4 separate regions of the Homo sapiens genome follow, and all the other regions are linked to region 3. The links are contacts of gene promoters, found by promoter capture Hi-C in blood cells and fetal thymus (Javierre and others, 2016). All regions are on one chromosome and are shown on one strand. Each heading gives the region's core, a stretch centred on a gene start or on the middle of the fragment in contact. The rest is flanking DNA. Distances are from core to core; before and after follow the strand shown. Region 1 overlaps MAD1L1 (mitotic arrest deficient 1 like 1). Region 2 overlaps MAD1L1 (mitotic arrest deficient 1 like 1). Region 3 holds the start of LNCRI (lncRNA radiation induced regulator of PLK1 and RAD51). Region 4 overlaps MAD1L1 (mitotic arrest deficient 1 like 1).

The links. The method cuts DNA at HindIII sites, captures the fragments that hold promoters and counts their contacts. A CHiCAGO score of 5 or more calls a contact.
Region 1: a contact is called between a fragment that was not itself captured here and the fragment with the promoter of LNCRI in region 3, in 4 of 17 cell types (M1 macrophages, M2 macrophages, M0 macrophages and 1 more). The highest score is 8.1, in M1 macrophages.
Region 2: a fragment that was not itself captured here is called in contact with the fragment with the promoter of LNCRI in region 3 in 2 of 17 cell types (M0 macrophages and M2 macrophages); the score reaches 6.7 in M0 macrophages.
Region 4: a fragment that was not itself captured here is called in contact with the fragment with the promoter of LNCRI in region 3 in 11 of 17 cell types (M2 macrophages, M0 macrophages, erythroblasts and 8 more); the score reaches 12.2 in M2 macrophages.

What each region holds. Positions count from the first base shown.
Region 1 is chr7:2,150,016-2,152,715 of GRCh38, forward strand. All of the region lies in intron 10 of MAD1L1 (mitotic arrest deficient 1 like 1), which reads right to left. Among named protein-coding and RNA genes, the nearest start is that of SNORA114, 62 kb to the left of the region's middle. The HindIII fragment of the contact is 522 bases long and covers 1,069-1,590 here.
Region 2 is chr7:2,131,498-2,134,197 of GRCh38, forward strand. The region is part of intron 11 of MAD1L1 (mitotic arrest deficient 1 like 1); the gene reads right to left. Among named protein-coding and RNA genes, the nearest start is that of SNORA114, 44 kb to the left of the region's middle. The HindIII fragment of the contact is 3,614 bases long and covers 1-2,700 here.
Region 3 is chr7:1,693,008-1,695,707 of GRCh38, forward strand. It overlaps LNCRI (lncRNA radiation induced regulator of PLK1 and RAD51), which reads right to left and starts at 1,343. Exons shown (of 4, transcript XR_007060188.1): 1 at 1,253-1,343; 2 at 1-1,078. The region is part of intron 2 of ELFN1 (extracellular leucine rich repeat and fibronectin type III domain containing 1); the gene reads left to right. The HindIII fragment of the contact is 12,694 bases long and covers 1-2,700 here.
Region 4 is chr7:2,197,022-2,199,721 of GRCh38, forward strand. The region is part of intron 10 of MAD1L1 (mitotic arrest deficient 1 like 1); the gene reads right to left. It overlaps LOC105375126 (a long non-coding RNA gene), which reads left to right and starts at 2,697. Exons shown (of 3, transcript XR_001745062.3): 1 at 2,697-2,700. The HindIII fragment of the contact is 6,509 bases long and covers 1-2,700 here.

The DNA.
Region 1 (2,700 bases), core at 80-2,579, 460 kb after region 3:
TTCTTCTCTTCACCTGTCATGGACCAAGCGCAGGTCCACATAGAAAGCAGGCGCTGGCAATGCTGTGAGAGCCCCACCCAGCCCCACTCAGGGAGCCCGCACCGCACCACTGAATGAGCAACGGGGACCCCGACATTGGCCAAGGAGGCTACCTGCACCCCTGGAAGGAGAGGTCCCAGTCACTCTGTCAGCCAGGCCCCCAGAGCAGCCTCGGGTGGATCCCGGGCACACCCTCCCAGCAGCCTGCCCGGGAGCTCCTCTCTGCGAGTCAGCCACGGCCACGGAGAGGCACACTGCAACCACGGACCCCTAACAGAAGCCATCCTGCTGCCTAAAACGCGCACGCTGCAAACCTCACGCACTGGGCCCGACCAGACTCTGCCCTGAGACAGCCACTGACCTTTCCTGTCACTTGAGCACCCTACCCATGGGCCCCCGAAACCCTCATCAGCTCATCCAGCGCTCACACAGCCCCTCCCCCGGTCTTCCAGCACCCAGCTCCTCCTCCAAACAGAGGAAGGGCCACTTCCTTACAGTGTCTCTGGCCACCCCCACGCCCCTCGCCATCCCATGCCTGTTTTGCACGGCACAGAGGACAGCTGGAGGCCGCCTTGCCCAGCATTAGTTTGGTGTTTCTGGAGTGTCTTCCATCACTGGAACAAAGCTACCAAGAGCCTGTGAGCAGATGTCCTGCGGCCTGGCCCAGGCCCTGAGCCCTCACACACACCCAGGGCTGGTCATAAGCCCTCCCTCTGACCACAGCCAATTCACACAGAGCACGCCACGGCCTTCTCCCTTCCACGTCCCCCAGAGAGGCCTCCTCTGCCCACCCAAAGAACAGGCCCCTTGCTGAACATCTAGTGGGGACAGCGATGGGTGCAGAAGGAGTAGCTGGCACCGGGGAGACCCCATCTGTCCTCACACACACAGGCAAACCGGGGTTAGAAAGCAGCTCCGTGGAAAAACCATTTATGACTGAAAGACCTTGGAAGAGAAACTGAACTCTAGGACAGAGATGAAAGGTGCAGCTGCCCTTGAACGCCGTGACCATTCTCTCCAGTTTCCCAAAGCTTCCAACCTCAGGGAGTTAAAAATATCAGTACGAAAGTAAGGAAACCTTTCCAAGCCAAGAGATATTTTTTCTGAAACATTTGAATGAGATATTTAAGTTGTTTTGCATTAATCAAAGGGGCTTGTAAATTTTCACTAACTCAGTGCAAAGAATTTATTTACAACAAATAAATAAAAATCGCATATATCCACATCTGCAACGGCGCCTCCCAGCCCCTGTGCCCAGAACCAGCGGCAGGTGGGGTGGTCACAGGCGGCAGGCTACAGGCTCCACCTACACAGCCAAGACCACCCCGCCTCACACCCCTCAGGGACCTCACATGTCACTGGACCTGAAACAGCAGGAGGCCAGTGGAGAGGCATTTGGCAGGCAGTACCAGGCCCCAGGGTTCTCCCAGCTGGGATGGTTCTCTCTCACCAGAGGGCACACTGCCTGCCACCTCCCTCTGTGGGGAAGCCTCCCTGCAGCCTGCAGAGCAGAAGGCAGGGTCAGGAGCATTTGACACCGATTTAGAAACAAGCTTCTTGCCCCAAGGTACGAACCCACCCAGCAAAGCTGGGAGCTGGGGTAAGATCTCAGAGGGCCAGGCTCTGCTAACCATGTTCTGCGATTCCCAGTGATGCCAAGACCATGATAAATGCAACCATTTAGCAATGAGGGGGGAAATGGGAGTGGTTCAAATCAACTGAAAAGTGACAGTGACAGAGCTCTCTTCTGAAGTGCTGGGCGCCCACAGATGGCACACGCACCAGGCAGTCTCCTACGTCACCCAGGAAGGCCTCTGTCTCATGTCATGGGGTCAACGCCTCATTCTGGCACTGATGGGCCACAGGAGAAACCTGAGTACTCTGGAGCCCCGGGGCATCCATCTCCATCACCCAAGGAGCAGGCTGGCTCTCCACATTCCCACCGACTCTGCAGGAGGCTGCTTCCGGGTGGCTCCCCTGCACGCTCCTCCTTGCCTGAGGTGGGTGTGACCTGGAGTTGTCCTGCCCCAGGCAGGAACAGAGAGCATGGCTTGCCCTGAGGCAGAAGGCTGGCGCCTGAGGCGGATGGTCCCACACAGACCCCAGCCCTCGGGAGCACTGTCACGTGATGGGCTCTCAGCCTGGATACTTGCTGGCCACATCCCTAGGCCCCCAGATCCCTGCCGGCTCTCAGTCCCCATGCGACCAGGCCCCCATCATAGGGAGGACTGAAGCTGCAGGGCTTGCTATTCCAGAGCCCTCCAACCACAGGGGCAGCCGTGCCCAACACCTCCCACGGGCAGAAGCCGCTGGAGGGCACAGGGGCACCAGAAGGAATCCCTCCCTTCGCAGCCTCTTGCGCTGAAAAACCCGCAGTCACCACTTTGGCTAAACCAAGCCTCACGAGCCCTGTCTGGCCATTCTTGCTCATGACCAGGGTTCAGCTTCCACTCAAAAGCACAAGCACAGTGAGCTCGATGACAGCCTTCAAGAACGTCACACGGGACCAGTCTACTCTACTTGCAGAGACAGAGGGAAGGCCAGGACATCCTTAAAGGAAAAGGAGATGGACCCATGGGAGAAAACCTGGGTCTCAGCCCCAGCCCTGACCCCTCCAGGCTCAACTCCCTACCTGCTCGGCTGGGCTTCCTAAGGCTCACT
Region 2 (2,700 bases), core at 8-2,507, 440 kb after region 3:
CAATTTAAAATTCAAAGCGCTGCTTCTGTTCCCCGACGAGCTTGTCAGTCCCAGGGGACCTCTGCGCAGGCACTGATGGTGTCCTTGCTCAAGGCCTCCCAGCTCATCCTCACAAATGTGCTGGAACATTCGTGCCTGCACCAGCTGGGCCCCCAGGTTCTCATCCAGAGAGCAGCAACAGGGACAGCTCAGGTGTGTCCCCCAGGCCCACACGCCTCCCCAGGGGTGCTCTGTGCCCTTCAGCCCCCATCAGCCCTTGTCCTCACCCTGGCCCGAGCTGGCTCAGGCTGGGAAGGTCAGCAGGATGTGACAGCCATCGCACCTGGGGTCTCTCTGGTCATGACAAGGGACCTGCTTCCTTCTTTCGGCAACTGGCAGTCACACAAGTCCTGTGAGCCCCCCACAAGGGCCTGACCATGCACACGTGAAATGATGGAGGGCTGCTCAGGTGCCTCTAATGGAAAGGCTGGTGAAAGATGTGCCTCGTAGACCCGCCGCGGCGCTGCCTCCTGACGCTCAGCGTGGTCCCTCTCTTCTCCAAGCAGTCAGTGAGGCTGACTCAGGAGGAAGCTGGCCCCAACTGCATTTTGTCTCAATCTGACCCCTGGGACAGCTCTCTCTAGCCTCATCTTACTTGCTAATTTTTGTTTTAAATTTACAGATATTCTTTTTTCAAGCAATTATAGGTTTACAGGAAAACTGAGGAGAAATGAGAGTTCTCATCTACCCTTCAGCCCCCAGGCAGATTCCCCTGCACCGTGCACGACTGCAGTCCATTCATTACAACTGATGAACCCAAGTCCACAGTGGACACGTGGGCTCACTTGTCATGTCTTACATTCTCGGGTTTAGACGAACGCATGTCTGCAGTCCCTGTGCGACCGCGCGTCCACCATCACGGCCGCGTGCAGTCGGTTCACTGCTGCGTGCGACCGCGCGTCCACCATCACGGCCGCGTGCAGTCGGTCCACTGCTGCGTGCGACTGCGTGTCCACCATCACGGCCGCGTGAAGAGTAGGTTCATTCCCCAAAAATCCTCTGGGTCCGCCTGCGCATCCCTCTTGTCCATCCCTGGCAACCACCGATCTTTTTACTGTGTCCACAGTTCTGCCTTTTCCAGAATACCACGGAGGAGAAATCCCACAGTACACCGCCTTTGCAGACTGTCCTCTTTCACTGTGCAATATATATTTAAGATTCTTCCACGTCTTTTCACAGCTTGGTAGCTCATTTCTTTTTAGCTCAGAACAGTATTTGAGTGAATGGACATACCATCTTTTATCCATTCACCCATGGAAGGACACTGTTACTGTGTGGTTCCCGACCCCTCCAAATCTCAGGTTGACAACTGATCCCCACGATTGGAAGCAGGACCTGAGAGGAGGGGTTTGGGCCATGGGGGTGGGTCCCTCATGACGGCTCATGCTGAAGAGCAGTCCTCACTTCATCAGTTACCAGGAGAGATGATTGTTACAGGGAGCCTGGCGTCTCCCTGCTCTCCCCCTTCCTGCGTCTGCTTTGGTGAGGCGCCTGTTCAGAGCTCACCCATTTTCAATGCTGAGCATCTCCTCACGTGCTTCTCCGTCACCCACGTGTCTGCTTTGGTGAGGCACCTGTTCAGAGCTCACCCATTTTCAATGCTGAGCATCTCCTCATGTGCTTCTCCTTCACCCACGTGTCTGCTTTGGTGAGGCACCTGTTCAGAGCTCACCCATTTTCAATGCTGAGCATCTCCTCATGTGCTTCTCCGTCACCCACGTGTCTGCTTTGGTGAGGCACCTGTTCAGAGCTCACCCATTTTCAATGCTGAGCATCTCCGCACGTGCTTCTCCGTCACCCGCGTGTCTGCTTTGGTGAGGCGCCTGTTCAGAGCTCACCCATTTTTTAATTGGGTGGTCTGTTTCCTTACCACTGAGTTTGAAGAGTTCTTTGTATAATTTGGATAACAGCCCTTATCAGATATGTCTTTTGCATGACGGTGAAAAATATTTTCTCCATTTGGGGCTTCTCCTTTTATTCTCAACAGTTTCCTTCGCAGAGCAGCCATTTCCAACTCTAACGAGGTCCATCTCATCAATTCTTTCAGACTGTGCCTTTGGTGTTGTACGTTAAAAGTCACTGCCTAATTGAGAGTCAGCTAGATATTTCCGCCGCTATCTTCTAGGAGTTTTAAAGTTTTGTGCTTTACACTCAGGTATGTGATCCACTCTGAGTTGATTTTTGAGGAAGGTGTAAGGTCTGTGTCTAGATTTTTCCCCTGTGGCTGTTCCGCTGTTCCAGCACCATTTGCTGAGAAGACCGTTTTCCTCTGAGCTGCCTTTGCTCTGCGGTCCACGATCAGCCGAGTATATCTGTGTGGGTCTATCTCGTGGCTCTCTGACCTGTTCCACAGACCTGTTCGTCCATTCTTCCATCAACAGCGCACCACCTTGATCACTGTGGTTTTACGCTAAGTCTTGAGGTCGGGGAGTGTCAGTTTTCCGGTGTTGTTCACTGGTGTTGTGCTGGCCATTGCCATCTTTTGCCTTCCCATATAAACTTTAGAATCTGTTGATATCCACAAATATAACTTGCTGGGATTCTGACTGGGACTGCACAGACCCTCTGGGGAGAACTGATAATATATTGACTCCTCCTACCCGTGAACATAGAATGCCGCTGCATTGATTTACGGCTTTGATTTCTTTCATCAGGTCTGGT
Region 3 (2,700 bases), core at 93-2,592:
CTCAGTTTTGTTGTCTGTAAAATGGGCGCAGGTCAGCCTCTCCCTGTGAACAAGGCTGTGAGGATTCAGCCCCAGCTGGGCTGGCCCGTCCTTCACCCTCCTTAAGGGGTGCAGGCCCCCAGGAAGTGACTGCCCATGCAGACCCCTAGTGACCAGATGCTGGGTTCCGCTGGGGTCCTGGTAGTGGGCAGTGCAGGCCCTGGAGATGTTCATGGCCGCGTGGACACCTTAAGAGTCCAGCAGACGTGGGGTTAGGAAGAGAGGATGTACTGGCTGGGGAAAGGAACGCCCATCGGGGCAGCCTCAGAAAGTGCCCGATTCCAAGAGTCTGGGCAGGCGTGGGCTTGGACTGCCCAGTGTGCCTGGACAGCCGTGTACACACACTGGTGTGCCTGAGTAGGTATGTGCACATATGTGTACACATAGGTGACATGGGCTTAGACTGCCTGGTGCACCCAGACAGGTGCGTGCCGCAGGGACAGAGTATACGATGTGTGGTGTGGGGCGTGACCCACTTCCTGGTGCAAGAACACATACACGCCTGTGGACGTAGCCTTGCTGGGTGTGTGCACATCTGCAGAGGGGTCGGTGTACACCGCTGTGTGAACACCTCCGGCGGTGCCCAGTCCGTGTGAACACATGCAGGTGAGCACAGACACATGCGTGCATGCCCTCTGTGTGTCTACAGACAGCTGTGTGCGCCACACTCACCCTCCCGCTCGTCCCCATGGCAACCCCAGAGCAGGTGTCTGGGAGACCCTGATCAGTGCTGACAGACACGGGGTGCGGGACACGTGGGATGGGCCTCCCCAGGGACGGCTGGGCCAATCGGGGTTCCTGGGCAGAGGCTCCAGCAGGAGTGAGAGTGCTTCCTCCTCCCCAGTCCATGCCACCTCCTCCTGCGTGCCGGCAAGGTGGGCAGCACTCGGGAAGCCCCCGTCTGGCTGTGATTCTTGCAGGGCGATTGGAGCAATACAGCCCTGTCTGGCCTGTCCGTGCACCGACGCTTAGAGCTGAACAGCCTTCAGGGCCACAGACTCAGCAGGGAGCGCCCAGTCTGTGGTCCTGGTCTCACTTCCTAGAAAGAGAAACCGAGGCTTGAAGCAGCTCCAGCCAGGGTTCCCCAGCCAGCCCCGGCAGACCCAGGCCCCTCACACTCCACCATGCCCACCTCCATCTGGAAGGAGGCAGGGAGCCCCCAGGTCCCAGGCTTGGGAGGCCGGTGCCGGGCAGGGCTGGGGAATGCCATCACCTTAAACCCACACTGGCCTCCCTGCGGGTGGTTTTCCTGCCTCCCTTTGCCGTTTTGCTGGTTATCAAAGACCTTTGCTGCGAGACCCAGGCCGGCCCAGCCCAGCGCCTCCCATCCTCCTGTGAAGTCATCCGCTCAGTTGGCAGGGTTCCCATGGCAACGGCAGTGATGTCACAAAGAGCTGGAGGAGGATGGCTGGAGGGAGGAGTGGGGTGAGGCTCCGGGAGGGGATTCCTGGCTTCTCCCAGGCCTTCTAGAAAGATAGAGCTCTGGTCCATCAGTCACTCAATAGGCCGGAGCTTATGCCCCTAGAAGCAGATCCCAGGGGTACCCCCCACCTCCCTGAGACAGGAAACCATCTCCTTGAAGGAGTCAGCTCCCCCAGCACCCAGACGCCCACCTGCCCAGGTGCAGAGGCCCTTGCAGGAGCGAGGGTATGAGACAGGAGGCCCTGACACCAAGACGTCACTGTCACCATGCCTGGCCCGCACAGCGGTCCTTTGCCAAACTTAGACTGACTCTGAGGGCTGCTGGCTGCACACCCTCCAGGGTGCATTCGAGACCACCTGTCAGCTGCCCTGCACTTGAGTTTCTTGATCTCCACTGCTATTAATAGTTTAATTCCAGAACCAAAGAAACTGTCTGTTCCACAGAAGTGGGGGACTCTGAGAGTCTCCCTGACCCTGGCTGCCAACAGCAGCCTGTGCCCAGCTGGGACAAATTCCAGCTCCCTGCCCTCCCTGTTGAGTGCTGCAGAGGGGCGTCGGGCGTCGTGCACATGTGCCCATCCCCCTCACTTTGAGTTACGCTGCAGACGGCTCCGGATGCACGTGGCTGTGCCAGGCAGCAGACGTGGCCGACAGGCACATGGTGGGACCTGCTCTGTGGCTCCAGAGCTCATGCGCAGCCCGCTGGGGCTGTGAGGGTTCTGTCCATCCACCAGGAAGGCCACCAGGACCCTGCTCCTGCCTGAGAACCCCAGGAAGTAGTAGCGTGCCAGGTGCGTGGCCGGCCTCCCAGCCCTTCCCAGCACCAGCTGCGTCCTCCTCCTCCAGGGCTGCAGCTCAGGGCTCAGGTGTCCGCGTCGAGGGCACTCCCTAAAGGGCAGGAGCAGGACCATTGGCACAAGCCTGGGCGAGTCTCGCTGGGAGGCAGGAGCAGACTCAGCCCGCCAAGCCCATGAACCCCACTTTGAAAACTGTGCAGCCGTGCGCGGCCACTCACACCTGTAATTCCAGCACTTTGGGAGGCTGAGGCGGGCAGATCACCTGAGGCCAGGAGTTCAAGACAAGCCTGGCCAACATGGAGAAACCCCGTCTCTACTAAAAAATACAAAAATTAGCCGGGCGTTGTGGTGGACACCTGTAATCCCAGTTACTTGGGAGGCTGAGGCAGGGAGAATTGTTTGAACCCAGGAGGTGGAGGTTGCAGTGAGCCGAGATCGCGCC
Region 4 (2,700 bases), core at 106-2,605, 500 kb after region 3:
GGATGTGCTCCTCCCTGATGAAGACCTTCTGCGGCTCCTGTGACCTGCAGGACGCGGTCCAAACCACCCTCAGGACAGGACAGATCCCTGCCAACCTGTCCAGCTTCTGCCACATCCCAGGAGAACTGTGGTTAGAACCAGCTGGAGCCACACAACACTGTCCGAACACGCAGCATCTGGCCAACCTGTGTGCTGCCAGCACCCACCCTATCTGGAACATGCTGCCAGCCTCTCAAGTGTCATCTCTTCAGGAGCCACGCTTGACCTAGCAGACATATGCCCGGCTAGATCTGAGAGGACTGGAAAACAGCCCCTGACTTATAGCTGTATCCCCAGCACCCAGCACCAGGCCTGCACACCTATGTGTTCAAGAAGCACTCACCAGTGAAGAAGAGGAAGAAACCCCACTGCTCTGGAGGCTTCTAGCCTCTCCTCACTCCTCCTCTCATCTCCCGCCCCGACCCACGCATCACTCCGCCGACGCCTGGTACACACGACGTGCACTGCACAGCCACCTTCTCCCTGCACACGGGCCCAAGCTCGGACACAGGCACGACCAGGACTGGCGGGCTGCAGAGCTCTCTGACCCGGTGAGGCACTGGCCCTCAGGCTCAAAGCCACCTGCAAACGCCAAAATCCCTCCAGACTCGGGCCAGCTGTCTGCTCCTCTGGCTCTGCCACTCCCCTAGGCCGGCTCATCCCTGCCCCTCACTGGGCAGGCCAGCCCTAGGGCTCCTCTAGGAGCCATGCAGGCCTGACATCGGCTGCTGTCTGACACCTCCTTCTGGCTACATCACTGACACTTCAAACACACATTCCCAAAACAGAGTTCACAACCCCTCCCTGCCTGAGAGCCAAAACTGGTCCTAGCCCCCGGGTCCCAGCCCCCAGGTCCCAGCCCCCAGGCCCCAGCCTGTGACTGACCCCATCTCCCTGCACCCACAGGGCCCATCAGCCCCTCCTCTAAGAGCAGGCCTGGGAACAGGCCCAGGACGGGGCAACCACACCCAGTTCTGCCCCACAAGCGCCCCCGCTCATCCCAAGGTCCACCATGAGTTTGGGTTTTTTTTTTTTTTTTTGGAGGAAGGGTTATCTTTATATTTTTATTTTTAAAAATAGAGATAGGGTCTCACAGTGTTGCCCAGGCTGGTCTTGAACTCCCAGGCTCAAGCGATCCTCCCACTTCAGGCTCCCAAAGTGCTGGGATTACAGGTGTGAGCCAAGGCACCCAGCCCAGCGTGGATTTGTGCCAGGAAGAGCCAGCAGGAGCTGACCAGCCCCATGGAAGCCTCCAGGCCGGCTGCCTGCTCTCATCTCCCAAGAGCCCGCCTTTGCTTCTGCCAGCCACTCACGCTCTCCACAGGCTGCAGCCAGGTACACACCCCCCTTCAAGCAACAAAACCACTGCCTGAGCACCTGGCCTGCTCTAAGCCCAGGGCTGAGACAAGGGGGAGCCAGCCACACACAACACCAGGAGCGCTGGCATCGCCGGAGCAAGGAGCCCGTGATGGCCGTCCACCCGGGACAGCAATCGCGCTCTGCGGCACGAGGCTTTCAACAGAGGCGAGTGCTTCCTGGGGGTCAAGAGCATGGAACACACACTTCAGGCCCCCTCTCCAGGCTGCAGGCCAACAGGCGTCCATGAGACAGACACTCCCTGATGTGTCCCACTCAGTTCTCCTGCCGCTGAGTGACTCTCCCAGGGAGGCCCAGAGCCACATGCTCTTGGTAGCCCCTACTCCTCCAGGTGTTAAAGCAGGTGCCCATGTACAGTCCACAAGCACAGGCCATCAGGCTGGGCAAGGATGGGCAAGGAACCAGGCCCCTGCCCTTTGAGGCTCAGGAGCTCCAAGCTACAGAATAGGGTTCCAAAGCTCCAGCCACTCGGAGGACACACAGGCCACAGGAAGCCGGCGACCAGTCCACAGAGAGACGCGCTGTGGGGCCCGACAGGCTGAGGTCAGGCAGTGGGATCCCCCCTTCACAGTCCTCCCGGCCTTGGGCGGGGCTATCCAGGAGGGGGCTGCCCCTCCCTGCCAGAGTGCACTGGGGCCTGTATGATGCCAGCCTGAGAAAGATGCGCAACTCCAGCTCCACCTGCACGGAGATGCCCCACAGCAGATCCCTGCCAAAATGGCATTTGCAAAGCGAGGAAACTGAGCCCCAGGAAGGCCACAATGATCAAAAACGGTCTCACTGCAACTTCCAGATACATTTTCTAGGCCTCTGGTTTTGGCCTTTTTAAATGTTGGCATATGGACTAAGGAATGGAATACCTAACTGCTCTCCAAGAAAGGAGTTTGTTACTTCTGGGTCACAGATTCCACACGTTCACCTTTCTGGCCTTCATACCTCACGTGTCACAGCCAAGACTCCTAGGAGGTCCCCTGCCTGCCGTCATGAAGGGCGCCTGCAGCCTGGTGCGCCACCCCCACATGCCCTGCACGCGGCAAACCGCTCAATAAGGACTGCAGTGAACACTTTCTTTAAATCATTGATGGTTTTCTTAATCATCTTAGAATCACTCTGCTACACGGATGTCCCTGGAGTTTCGATTCCTAAATCAGCAGTCTTCCACTCCGCATCCGCGCCCCCGCAGTGCCCCGCCTGGCACGGGCAGGGGTGCCTCCCAGACAACGGAAACCAGACGAGGGCCAGGCCAGGCAGACACACCGGGCAGCCACTGAACTGCTGGGCCAA